Regions from separate parts of the Homo sapiens genome. Here regions 1 and 3 are each linked to region 2. The links are contacts of gene promoters, found by promoter capture Hi-C in human tissues and cell types (Jung and others, 2019). All regions are on one chromosome and are shown on one strand. Each heading gives the region's core, a stretch centred on a gene start or on the middle of the fragment in contact. The rest is flanking DNA. Distances are from core to core; before and after follow the strand shown.

Evidence for each region. The method cuts DNA at HindIII sites, captures the fragments that hold promoters and counts their contacts. A contact is called where the count stands out against the background at its distance.
Region 1: a fragment that was not itself captured here is called in contact with the fragment with the promoter of MORN3 in region 2 in 1 of the 25 tissues and cell types used here (spleen).
Region 3: the fragment with the promoter of PSMD9 here is called in contact with the fragment with the promoter of MORN3 in region 2 in 1 of the 25 tissues and cell types used here (adrenal gland).

The regions. Positions count from the first base shown.
Region 1 is chr12:121,467,553-121,471,980 of GRCh38, forward strand. All of the region lies in intron 12 of KDM2B (lysine demethylase 2B), which reads right to left. Among named protein-coding and RNA genes, the nearest start is that of MIR7107, 25 kb to the left of the region's middle. RefSeq lists a silencer at 1-254. The HindIII fragment of the contact is 5,841 bases long and covers 1-4,428 here.
Region 2 is chr12:121,668,016-121,671,866 of GRCh38, forward strand. MORN3 (MORN repeat containing 3) reads right to left here and starts at 1,639. Exons shown (of 6, transcript NM_173855.5): 1 at 1,324-1,639. The coding sequence starts at 1,468. All of the region lies in intron 1 of LOC105370034 (a long non-coding RNA gene), which reads left to right. RefSeq lists an enhancer at 3,776-3,851. The HindIII fragment of the contact is 82,615 bases long and covers 1-3,851 here.
Region 3 is chr12:121,887,145-121,891,430 of GRCh38, forward strand. PSMD9 (proteasome 26S subunit, non-ATPase 9) reads left to right here and starts at 1,646. Exons shown (of 6, transcript NM_002813.7): 1 at 1,646-1,850. The coding sequence starts at 1,713. It also overlaps a transcript of HPD not described here. RefSeq lists enhancers at 1,303-1,916, 1,550-1,949, 1,917-2,530. The HindIII fragment of the contact is 23,703 bases long and covers 1-4,286 here.

The DNA.
Region 1 (4,428 bases), core at 411-2,910, 200 kb before region 2:
GGTCCCTCGCGGCCGGAGCGCGGGGACTGGGGCTGCGTGGGGGCGTGCCCCGCGCCCCGCCCGGCCCGGCCTGGCCCGCGCGCCGCGGGATGCACATGGGTGGCTGCACGCCGCCACCGCTGCAACAGGAAATGCGCGCCCGGCCTGGGGTGGGGTCCTTTGTGTGGTCCCGTGGGGCGTCTCGCGGAAGCCCGGGGGCGCCCGGGCCGTGGGGGACGACTCTGCACCCGACGCCAGGAGCGGGTCCCCAGGTCCCTTGCAGCAGGCACACGGGCTGCCGGGTTTGCACTCGCTGCAGGACCAGGACCTGAAGCGCACGAACCCGGGAACCCCCGACCCAGAGCCTGCAGGACCGCTGGCCTGGATAAGCTCTGAGAGCCCAGTCTCCCCCGACGCGGGCGGTTGGGCTGGGCCGGCCTCCTGGCGCTGCACCTCCGGCACTCGGGTTCGCCTTTGCAGGGTCAAGTAGTGCAGGCGGGAGTTCCACTCGAGTCGCCTGACGGGGGCTGTCAGAACGCCCTGACTCTACCCTGAGGTGGGCGCCCCCTCCCTTGGACAGGTACCGCCTTCTGAGTTGACCTCCGAAAGGTGGAGGACGTCGCAGGCCAGAACCCAGCTCTCCTAGGAGACTGGCTGCCCCTTAGGCTGGCTGGGGAGGTGTGGGTTTCTGAATTCTTAAGCTGCAAAGGTTCCTAGTGCTCACTCCAGCTGCAGCCCACTCCTGAAGAAAAGTGTTGCTAGAAATCCAGATAGATCTTCATTCATTCAAAAAAAAAGTCTATCGGGCACTTAAGCCAGCAGCCTCTCTGAAAGAGCTCATGACCATGAGCTAGAACGACCAAAGCTGTTATAAGCATCAAAACCAAAGCTAAACACAAGCTAAGGAGGACTTGGCATACATATCATCCACCTGTCCAAGGTAACACTAAATATGCACACCTGTACCTGTTCAGTTTCTCCATCTATACAAGGGGAAGGATTTACCAAGGGATGGATAACCTTCTGTAAAAAGATCAGAGGCTTTCCCAAGAATAAGCCATGAAATCAGGTGATCAGCTCTGCAATGGCCATCTGTTAGTCACGTCCAGGCCACTGGCCACGAAATCCAGTGAGAACAGAAGGGATGGGCAGGCTGGTCCTGGCCTGGCCTTTCAAAGAAGGCAGGCTGTGTGCCGGAGACCTTGTAAACAAAACTCAGGAGGCTTCTAGCAGAGTCGGCAAAAGTGAATAAGCAGGGATGTCAGTTTTACTGAGTGGATTTTAAAGTCTGAAATTTACACACCCACTATAGAAAAAATCCCAGTCGACTTGCTCTTTGCCGAAACGTATCTGTTCTGAGTTTCCTTCCTTACTCTCCTTTTTTTGAGACAGACTCTCACTCTGTCGCCCAGGCTGGAGTGCAGTGGATCTCGGCTCACTGCAACCTCCACCTCCTGGGTTCAATCGATTCGTGTGCCTCAGCCTCCAGAGTAGCTGGGATTACAGGTGGGCGCTACCACGCCCAGCTAATTTTTGTATTTTTAGTAAAGAGGGGGGTCTCACCATGTTGGCCAGGCTGGTCTGGAGCTCCTAGCCTCAAGTGATCCACCCACCTCAGCCTCCCAAAGTGCTGGGATTACAGGCATGAGCCACCATGCCCGGCCATCACTCCCCTCTTATTTTTCAGAATCTTCTCAAAGTTGCAACAGAAACAACAAGCAAAAGAATACACCCTAACCCCCCCACCCCACCCCACATCACTCCATTCCCAAAGGTCTCAGCTTTTTAAAAGCTACCTTGATGGCTGGGCGCGGTGGCTCACGCCTGTAATCCCAGCACTTTTGGGAGGCTGAGGAGGGTGAATCACCTGAGGTCAAGAATTCAAGACCAGCCTGGCCAACATGGTGAAACCCAGTGTCTACTAAAAATACAAAAATTAGCTCGGTGTGGTGGTGCGCACCTGTAATCCCAGCTACGTGGGGGTGCTGAGGCAGGAGAATCACTTAAACCTGGGAGGCAGAGGTTGCAGTGGGCCAAGATTGTGCCACTGCACTCCAGCCTGGGCGACAGAGCGAGACTCCATCTCAAAAAAAAAAAAAAAGGCTACCTTGTTGTCTGAAGTTTGTATCTGACCTCTTGCTGGCCACTCTACTCAGTAGGAGCCTCTAAAGAAAGAGGAGGGGCTCATAACATGCCAATCATGCTTCCACTTCATTGTGATTGGTCAAGCCTACAGGGGTATAGAGTCACCCAAATAACATAATACATCAAGAGAAATGTCTAGGCCAGGCACGGTGGCTCACACCTGTAATCCCAGCACTTTGGGAGACTGAGGAGGGTGGATTGCTTGAGGTTAGGAGTTCAAGACTAGCCTGGCCAACAGAGTGAAGCCCCGTCTCTACTAAAAATACAAAAATTAACAGGTCATGGTAGCACACACCTGTGATCCCAGCTGCTCAGGAGGCTGAGGCACAAGAATCACTTGAACCCAGCAGGCAGAGGTTGCAGTGGGCGGAGATCGTGCCACTGCCCTCCAGCCTGGGCAACAGAGTGATATTCTGTCTCAAAAAAAAAAAAAAAGGAGAGAGAGAGAGATGTCTGTAAGCAGGAATTCTTCTCAAAGGTTTTTCCCATTACCAATCAGGAGCAAAAGAATTATCTTGAGGTTGATTTCCTTTGAGGACTCTCAAAAGCTCACTTCTGAATTTAAGGAAGTAAAAAAACACAATTCTCAACTATCATGGCTCAAAGAGCGGAAAGGAAAAGTGCGGACAAACAAAAAAGTTGCCGCTAACACAAACTCCCTTCCTCCCTTTATATCATTTCAGAGATAGAAGGGGGTCTCTCCTGACCCCTTCACTTCACAGGTGAGGAAATGAAGGCCCAAAGAAAATTAGGGAGTGGCTTTCAAGACCAGAGTCTCTTATATAATACCATCCAGAGAAAGACCTCCCTCCAAGGGCCCAGGCAATAACAGCAGCTTTAAGCATGTTCAAAGGGCCAGACCAGTGGTAAGTCTGCTGTAGACATGATCTCACTTATTCCTTTAAACAGCCCCATAAGGTGGGTACTTGACAGATGAGGAGACTGAGGCGCATTGCCGCGAGGAAGGGAAAGGACCTGGATCTGACTCTGTAGGCAACTGGAGCCTGGGCTCTCAACTGCACCGCTCCAATGCTTCATGCCAGAGACGAGGAGGATGCCAAATGAGGCTGGTGACAAACTCAGGCTGAAGCAGAAGAAAATTAAGTGTCCCTTACTACATGCTATTAATTCTGTATTCTCAGTTCAAATCCAATTCCAAGGTGGGTAGGTATGGTTTGGATAGCCAGGTTGCTGTCTGATCTGGCAAGGGCCAACTGTGGAACCGGGAGGCCATGGTTAGGACATGATAACGTAGTGGGTTCCCTCCAAACACTAGGAAGGCCACTGTCCTGACACCTCTTACAAATTCCTCTTTTGACACTTGCAAAATGCTTCTTCTCTATTTCCCTAAAGCAAATTTCCTATAGTTAACTGGTGCACACAATTATCCAATATCTGTTTTGTATTAATAGTGTGCTGGACTATATATACAATACAAATTATGCCAGCCCTTGCCCAACAGAATTGCCAACTTAAAATTTAGCATGTACACTGTGCTTTTGGGTGGCCCTCCCTCCCTCCGTCTGACCTCATCTTCTAGCGACCCTAAAAACTGAATCCTCCCCCAATTCCACTGGGCCAAGCCTTAACTTATATTCTTAGAAAGAGGTCCCCAAAGCTGATGCCACCCAGCCAGTTGGATCCAGAACTTTCACCATGTGATGTGGAAATAAACAAAAACAGATGGAAGCCGAGTCCTCCTCCATCACAATTGTCACTCATGTCTCTGCTTTCTCTCTGGGTGTCGTGTACATTTCTGATCTGCCTATCAGAGAGTGAGAACCCAGAAATGACCCCTGGCTGCTAAGAGGTTTTGCCCAGACTCAGCCGTGTCAGGCAATGTGCAAAGGTGAAGGGAGGAGGGAAAACAGGAAGACGATGACACTTGGAGTTAGTCACCAGCCTCTCCATGCCCACTTCTAGGAATGGGCATGGGGAGGGCAGACTGGGCAGCAGCTGTCCCCGTGGACTCTGGTTTACCTAAGCGGAGGGGCTCTCCAGCGTGAAACCCCTTTCCTTGTGCCCATGTCACAAAGGCCACAGCTAAAGCTTGGGAACATCATTTTCCAGAGGCTCAGGGCAGAGAAACAGAATGGATCCTTTTAATGTTGAGACCAATGACGGGCTGGTACCCTCCTGGACCAATGGGCATCATTTGTAAACATGCCCCTAAGAAGGGAACAGAAGTGACCCATGCCTGTAATCCCAGGCTTTGGGCGTGGATCACTTGAGGTCAGGAGTTCGAGACCAACCTGGCCAACATGGTGAGACTCCGTCTCTATTAAAAATACAAAAAATTAGCCG
Region 2 (3,851 bases), core at 389-2,888:
CCCAGCCCCACCTGGCCCATTTTTGTATTTTTTTAGTAGAGATGGGATTTCACCATATTGGCCAAGGTGGTCTTGAACTCCTGACCTCAGGTGATCTGCCTGCCTCGGCCTCCCAAAGTGCTGGGATTACAGATGTGAGCCACCACACCCAGCCTGGAACTGGGATCCTAACCCAGGTTTATTTGACTGCAAAGCACTTAACCCAGCAAGGCAGGAGAGCAGGATGGTTAAGAGCACAGAATTGGGCTGGGCGCAGTGGCTAAACGCCTGTAATCCCAGCACTTTGGGAGGCCGAGGCGGGCGGATCACTCGAGGTCGGGAGTTCAAGACCAGCCTGACCAACACGGAGAAACCCCGTCTTACTAAAAATACAAAAGTAGCCAGGCGTGGTGGCACATGCCTGTAATCCCAGCTACTCTGGAGGCTGAGGCAGGAGAATCGCCTGAACTCGGGAGGTAGAGGTTGCGGTGAGCCAAGATCGTGCCATTGCACTCCAGCGTGGGCAACAAGAGTGAAACTCCGTCTAAAAAAATAAAAAGAGCACAGAATCTAGCCAGGCACAGTGACTCCCACTTGTAATCCCAGCAATTCAGGAGGCTTGGACAGGAGGATTGCTTGAGCCCAGGATCTCGAGGCTGCAGTGAGCTATGAAGGCACCACTGCACTCCAGCCTGTTTTTTTGAGACAGAGCAAGACCTTGTCCCCTCAAAAAAAAAGAGTACAGAGTCTGGAATTGCAAGACTGGAGTGAGCAGCAGTGCCACATTTTAAAATAAAAGCTCTTTTTTCTTTATTTTTTTCCCCAGTCAGGATTTAGTTTGTATCAACAGGACCCCTTTGCCCCCTGCTGGTCAGACTTGGAGCCCCAGCTCCTCCTTGTGGGATGGAGTAGGGGGTCCTCCCTTGTGCCTGGCGCTCAGCCCTCTGCAGAGCATCACAGCTGAATGCGAAGCCCAGAACCCCACTGCAAGCTGGCTTCAGGGGCGTGGCTTTTCTTGTTGCCAGCCAGCCCAGTGCTTAACCCAGGTCTCAGAAGGCAGGAACTGAGCCCCCTAGGTCCCAGAGCCCCGGGGGCAGGCCAGTTTCTCAAGACCCTCTGTCCACTGCTGGTCCTGAGACCCTCACTCAGTTGAAGTCAGGGCTGAGTTTGTTCAGAAGCCCCAGCATGTGAAGGCCCCCAGCTGGCCTGGGCCAGCGCTCACCCTGGGGGAGCCTTGGGGACACATCTCATGTCCCCAGTGAGCTCTGCACTCTGCCTTCCTGGCCCTGTTGCCCACTGTGGCTCTGACCCCACTCCGGCCGCCCGTCCCGGAGTCCCACTCACCGTGTTTCACGTTGTCCTTCCACTCGCCCACATAGTAGTCGCCATTCACAGCGTATACCTGGCTCCGCAGGCCGTTCCTCTGGGCCTTCCGGTCCCACCCCTTCCACAGGGACTCCGACTTTTTTGGGCACTTAGAGACTGGCATGGTGGCTGCTTCTGCAAGGCTGGAGGGTGCTGGAAAGGGGTTAGGGACATCTGGGGCTCAGCGCGCCCCGTGTAATGCCGGGATCCTGAGCTCAAGTGGGGAGAGTCATGTGTGTTCTGAGTCCCTGGGGCAGGTGAACAGCCCTTAGTGGGGATCCTTTAGTGCTGGACTGACCTTTGGTTGGCCCCTCCCTTGCCTCTCCTGGGGCCCCCTCCCAGGGGGTCTGATGGCACAATTACTTGGGAATCTAGGGAAACCAGTAGAGCAGGAGGGTTTGTGATGGCATCAGGGAGAAGCTGCCCCCAGGGAGGGGGTGGCGGTCATATATACATATATATATATATATATATTTTTTTTTTTATGTCTTCTAAATATTTTTATTTATTTATGTATTTATTTATTTATTTAGAGATGGAATCTTGCTTTGTTGCCCAGGCTGGAGTGCAGTGGCACCATCTCGGCTTACTACAACCTCTGCCTCCTGGGTTCAAGTGATTCTCGTGCCTCAGCCTCCTAAGTAGCTGGTATTACAGGCGCCCACCACCACGCCTGGCTAATTTTTGTATTTTTAGTAGAGACGGGGGTTTCACCATGCTGGGCAGGTTGGTCTCAATTTCCTGATCTCAAATGATCCATCCACCTCAGCCTCTCCAAGTGCTGGGATTACAGGCATGAGCCACTGAGCCAAATATGAATCCAAAATATGAACCCAAAATATGGGTTACATATTTTGACAATCACACCTAGGAGTAGGGAAAAATAATTCCAGGCAAAGAAAATAGGCAGAGCAAAAGCTGGGAGTGGGGAAACAATCTCAGGTCCTAAATTCTATGCCGTTGGGATTTTTTCTTCTCCCATTTCCAAATATCACATGTACTATTAATCTTTATATGTAAATTAACTCACTTGGCAGAGGTTGCAGTAAGCCGAGATCATGCCGCTGCACGCCAGCTTGGATGACAGAGTGAGAACTTTTCTCAAGAAGAAAATAAAAATAAGTTAACTCACTTTAAAAAAATCAATACATATATTGAAAAAAGGAGGGCCAGGCGCAGTGGCTCATGCCTGTAATCCCAGCACTTTGGGAGGCCGAGGCGGGTGGATCACCTGAGGTCAGGAGTTCGAGACCAGCCTAGTCAACATGGTGAACCCTTGTCTCTACTAAAAATACAAAAATTAGCCAGGCCTGGTGGTACGCGCCTGTAATCCCAGCTACTCAGGAGGCTGAGGCATGAGAACAGCTTGAATCCAGGAGGCGGAGGTTGCAGTGAGCCGAGATTGCACCATTGCACTACAGGTTGGGAGACAGAGCAAGACTCAGTCTTAAAAAATAATAATAAAATAGGCCGGGCTCAGTGGCTCACGCCTGTAATCCCCAGCACTTTGGGAGGCCGAGGCGGATGGATCACCCGAGGTCAGGAGTTCAACACCAGCCTGGCCAACATGGCGAAACCCTGTCTGTACTAAAAATACAAAAATTAGCTGGGTGTGGTGGCGGGCGCCTGTAATCCCAGCTACTCGGGAGGCTGAGGCAGGAGAATCGCTTGAACCAGGGAGGAGAAGGCTGCAGTGAGCCGAGATTGCACCACTGCACTCCAGCCTGGGCGAGACAGAGTGAGACTCTGTCTCAAAAAAAAAAAAAGACTGGGCGCGGTGGCTCACGCCTGTAATCCCAGCACTTTGGGAGGCCGAGGCGGGTGGATCACGAGGTCAGGAGATTGAGACCATCCTGACTAACATGGTGAAACCCCGTCTCTACTAAAAATACAAAAGATTAGCCGGGCGTGGTGGCGGGCGCCTGTAGTCCCAGCTACTCGGGAGGCTGAGGCAGGAGAATGGCATGACCCGGGAGGCGGAGCTTGCAATGAGCCGAGATCGCGCCACTGCACTCCAGCCTGGGCAACAGAGCAAGACTCCATCTCAAAAAAAAAAAAAAATTAGAAGAATGGAGACTTTACGTATCATTATTATAAATAGAAAACCAGTAGCAGGTACCCTAAGGCAATAATAAATGTAAAAATGAAAACACTGAAAGAACCAATTTAAGTCTTAGCTAGATGCTATGGCTTAGAGTTGACTGAGCTCCAAGGTCTCTGTTAAAAATAGGAATTAGCAAGGCCGGGAGCGGTGGCACACGCCTGTAATCCCAGCACTTTGGGAGGCCGAGGTGGGCAGATCACGAGGTCGGGAGTTCGAGACCAGCCTGGCCAACATAGTGAAACCGCGTCTCTACTCAAACTACAAAAATTAGCCGGGCGTGGTTGACGACGCCTGTAATCCCAGCTACTCGGGAGGCTGAGGCAGGAGAATCGCTTGAAACCGGAAAGCGGATGTTGCAGTGAGAGCTGAGATCTGCCACTGCACTCAGCCTGGGCAAAAAGAG
Region 3 (4,286 bases), core at 396-2,895, 220 kb after region 2:
CCACCTCAGCCTCCCAAAGTGCTGGGATTACAGGTGTGAATCACCACACCTGGTCCTCTGCTAATTAATTATTATTTTTTTTTTTTTGTAGAGATGGAGGTCTTGCTATGTTGCCCAGGCTAGTCTCAAACTCCTGGACCTAAGGGATCCTCCTGCCTTGATCTCCCAGCATAATGGGACTACAGGTATGAGCCACTGCACCTGTATTTCTCTCTCTCTCTCTCTCGATAATGTTAGAAATGTTAGTTTATTTTTGAGGGGTGCGGTAGCTCACTCCTGTAATCCCAGCACTTTGAAAGGCCGAGCTGGGCTGGATCACTTGAGGCCAGGGGTTCGAGACCTCAGCCTCCTGAGTACCTGGGATTACAGGTGTGTGCCACCACACCCGGCTAATATTTTATATTTTTGGTAGAGACAGGGTTTCACCATGTTGGCGAGGCTAGTCTCAAACTCCTGACCTCAAATGATCTGCTTGCCACAGCCTCCCAAAGTGCTGGGATTATAGGCATGAGCCACCACACCTGGCCCATTGCATTTAGTTGATGCACATCTTTAGTGTTCTTAAATCTAGGCAATTGCATATCCGCCTCCTTTCTCTGTCCCCCACCCCTTATTCCCCATGTGTATTTCACAACATTGACTTTTTTTGAAGTTTTCAGGCCAGTTGTTTTGAAGTATGTCCCTTCTTTTGGATATGTCTGTTTTCCAATGATTAGATTCAGGGCAAACATGTTTGAATACTACACAGATGACCGCTGAGCCCTTTTCAAGACAAAATATTAGAGGCACATGGTCAGATATCAAAGTTGATTGTTTAGGTAAGCTGGGTTGGAATTTTGGCCTCACATTTTGCTAGTTGGGTAAATTGGTTATTGAGACGGTTTTCTCAGCTGTCAAATTGGGATGTAATAATCTAGCTTCATGAGGTTGTTGAATTAATATATGTAAGGCATTTAGAACAGCGTCTGGCACATTATAAGTATCAATAAATAAACACTGTTACCGTTATTATTATCACTACGATTTTTAGAGGCCTTAACAGGAACATCCAGCACCTTCAACAGTATATGGCTCATAGGAATCATTCCATGAATATTTGTTAGCAGAAGGACAGCTCTATGAGATAGATTGCTATCAATTACTGCCCCATTTTACAGATGAGGAAACTGAGGCCCAGAGAAGCCAAGTAGTGACCTAGGGTCACACAGATTGCCGTTAAGTGGCAAGATACGGGGTGTGTACTCAGGCATATCGGATCTGTAAAGTGAGGGATAAGGAACCTTAATGTATTTTGTAAATCCTCCAGGGCTGTGTGGATGTGAAGAACTGAATTGGAGCGCCACGCAGCGGTTCTCTGGCGTACAGTATCCATCCATACAGTAGGCGCTCAATAAATGTCTGCTGCACGAATGAGAAAATGAGTCAGCTGGGGCGAGATCATCCCCTAGCGTTGGTGTGCAATTGCGTGGGGATCCATTGCTTCCGACGCTACTCCTGCCGGGTCACCACAGGCGCACGTGTTCCGGCAGGGCGCGGCTTCCGGTGACCCAGCTCCGCCCTAAGCCCCATCCCAAGCCCCGCCCCTTGACTGTTCTCGCGTTCGCGGACGGCTGTGGTGTTTTGGCGCATGGGCGGAGCCGTAGTTACGGTCGACTGGGGCGTCGTCCCTAGCCCGGGAGCCGGGTCTCTGGAGTCGCGGCCCGGGGTTCACGATGTCCGACGAGGAAGCGAGGCAGAGCGGAGGCTCCTCGCAGGCCGGCGTCGTGACTGTCAGCGACGTCCAGGAGCTGATGCGGCGCAAGGAGGAGATAGAAGCGCAGATCAAGGCCAACTATGACGTGCTGGAAAGCGTGAGTGTGGGTTCGGGGCGCCCCAAGTCGCCTAACCCGGCCCGGAGTCCCTGGGGTACTGGGATGCCAGGGCGGCCTCAGTTTGGGCGCTCCGCAACGGATCTCCCTGGGAGGCCCAAGGCGCCGCAAGTGCGGCCTCTGTCGGCACAAGAAGGCAGGCAAAGAACTTTAGCAACTGAAGAGTTAGCCATATTGATATCCAGCAAGAGTTTGTGGAGCCCTGCTGTGTGCTAGGCGCTGGTTTAAGTGCTGTGCATTGTTGAGTTAATTTAATCTTTGCAACAACCCTTTGAGGTGGATGCTGTTACTCTTTCCATTTTAGGGAGGGGGAAACAGGTGTTACTTGGTGATTAAACAGCTGTCATGTGCCTCGCTGACTGCCTTATCTTAATTTTGTACTTTTTGTAAAGACAGAGTCTCACTGTGTTGCCCAGGTTGGTATCGAACTCATGGCCTCAAGCGATCCTTCCACCTCGGCCTTTCAAAGTGCTGGGATTACAGGCGTGAGCTACTGCACCCGGCATTTGCTGATTGTATCGTGAATTCTTAAACTTCAGTGTGTATATGAATTACCTGGGGATCTTATTAAAATGCAGATTTTGTTTGAGGCAAGGGAGCAGATTCTGCATTTGTAGCAAACTCCCAGCAATGCTGATGCTAGTGGTCTAAGGACCGAACTTTGAGTTACAAATAAGGCTCATCATCCTTATTGCATAAGGAGGAAACTGAGGCCCAGAGTGGGGCAAACGCCTATCTAAGGTCATGTAGTTCGGAAGTGGCAGTGGTGGGTCTGGCTCAAAAGCTGATGCAGGTTTTCTTATGCCATCTAGTGTAAAATCACAGATCAGTTTGCAGAGGAAGATGCAATTAATTATGCCCAAGTAGGGTGGGATGGAATGCATTTTAGGTGATGTAAGATGAAGTTTCTTTTTTTTTTGTCTGAGACGGAGTCTTGCTTTGTCACCCAGGCTGGAGTGCAGTGGCTCAATCTCGGCTCACTGCAGCCTCTGCCTCCTGGGTTCAAGTGATTCTCCTGCCTCAGCCTCCCGAGTAGTAGGGATTACAGGCGAGCGCCAGTACGCCAGGCTAATTTTTTATTTTAAGTAAAAGCAGGGTTTCACCATGTTGGTCAGGCCGGTGTTGGATTCCTGACCTCAGGTGATCCGCCCACCTTGGCCTCCCCAAGTGCTGGGATTACAGGCGTGAGCCACCGCGTCCGGCCATAAGATGAAGTTTCATACGGAGGGCCAGAGAACCATTTTACTGGGTGCTGACTATATGCTCAAAGTGGGATTCAGACTTCAGGTCTGTTACATTCAGAACCTGTGCTTTCAAGCAAATTACCAGCAATTTCTCAAACTTTAGTTTACTTTCTACCACATGCAGTATACTATATGCATATACCACTTGTGTTATTCCTTTGATATTTTTATTTAAATAGATCTACTTTTAATCTTATATAAATGTATTATTATTGTTATTATTATTATTGAGACAGGGTCTCGCTCTGTTGCCCAGGCTGGAGTTCAGTGGCACCATCTTGGTTCACTGCAGCCTCAATCTCCTGGTGTCAAGCAATCCTCCCACCTCAGCCTCCCAAGTAGCTGAGACTGCAGGTACGTGCCACCACGCCCAGCTAATTTTTGTATTTTTTGTAGCTATGGGGTCTCACTATGTTGCTTGCTCAGACTGGTCTGAAACTCCTGGGCTCAAGCAGTCCTCCTGCCTCTGCCTCCCAAAGTGTTGGGGTTACAGGCATGAGCCACAGTGCCTTGCCCATAAATGTATTTTAAAAGGAAATTTCAAAACTCCGCTGCATATGGAAAATGATAATCTCTTCTCTTAAATATAAGGTCAGATGCTTTGCATGTTGATACGGCATGTTGGTTGCTTCTGGCTAGCTGCTGTTGCTTGCTGAAAGCTTTCAGCCTGAAACCGTGCTCTATATTTGTTTTTAAAAAGTGGGTTTGGGCCGGGCCTGGTGGCTCACGCCTGTAATCCCAGCACTTTGGGAGGCCAAGGTGGGTGGATCACCTGAGGCCAGGATGGTCTCGATCTCCTGACCTCGTGATCCGCCCGCCTCGGCCTCCCAAAGTGCTGGGATTACAGGCTTGAGCCACCGCGCCAGGCCTACAAAAAATTTTTTTAAAAATTAGTTGGGCGTGGTGGTGCATGCCTGTAGTCCTAGCTACTTGGGAGGCTGAGGCAGGAGGATTGCTTGAACCCTGAATGTTGAGGCTGCAGGGAGCTATAATTGCACCACTGCACTCTCTTGTGGGTGACAGAGTGAGATGCTGTCTCTTTAAAAAAAAAAAAAAAAAAAAGGCCGGGTGCGGTGGCTCATGCCTCTAATCCCAGCACTTTGGGAGGCCGAGGCGGGCGGATCACGAGGTCAGGAGATCGAGACCATCCTGGCTAACACAGTGAAACCCCGTC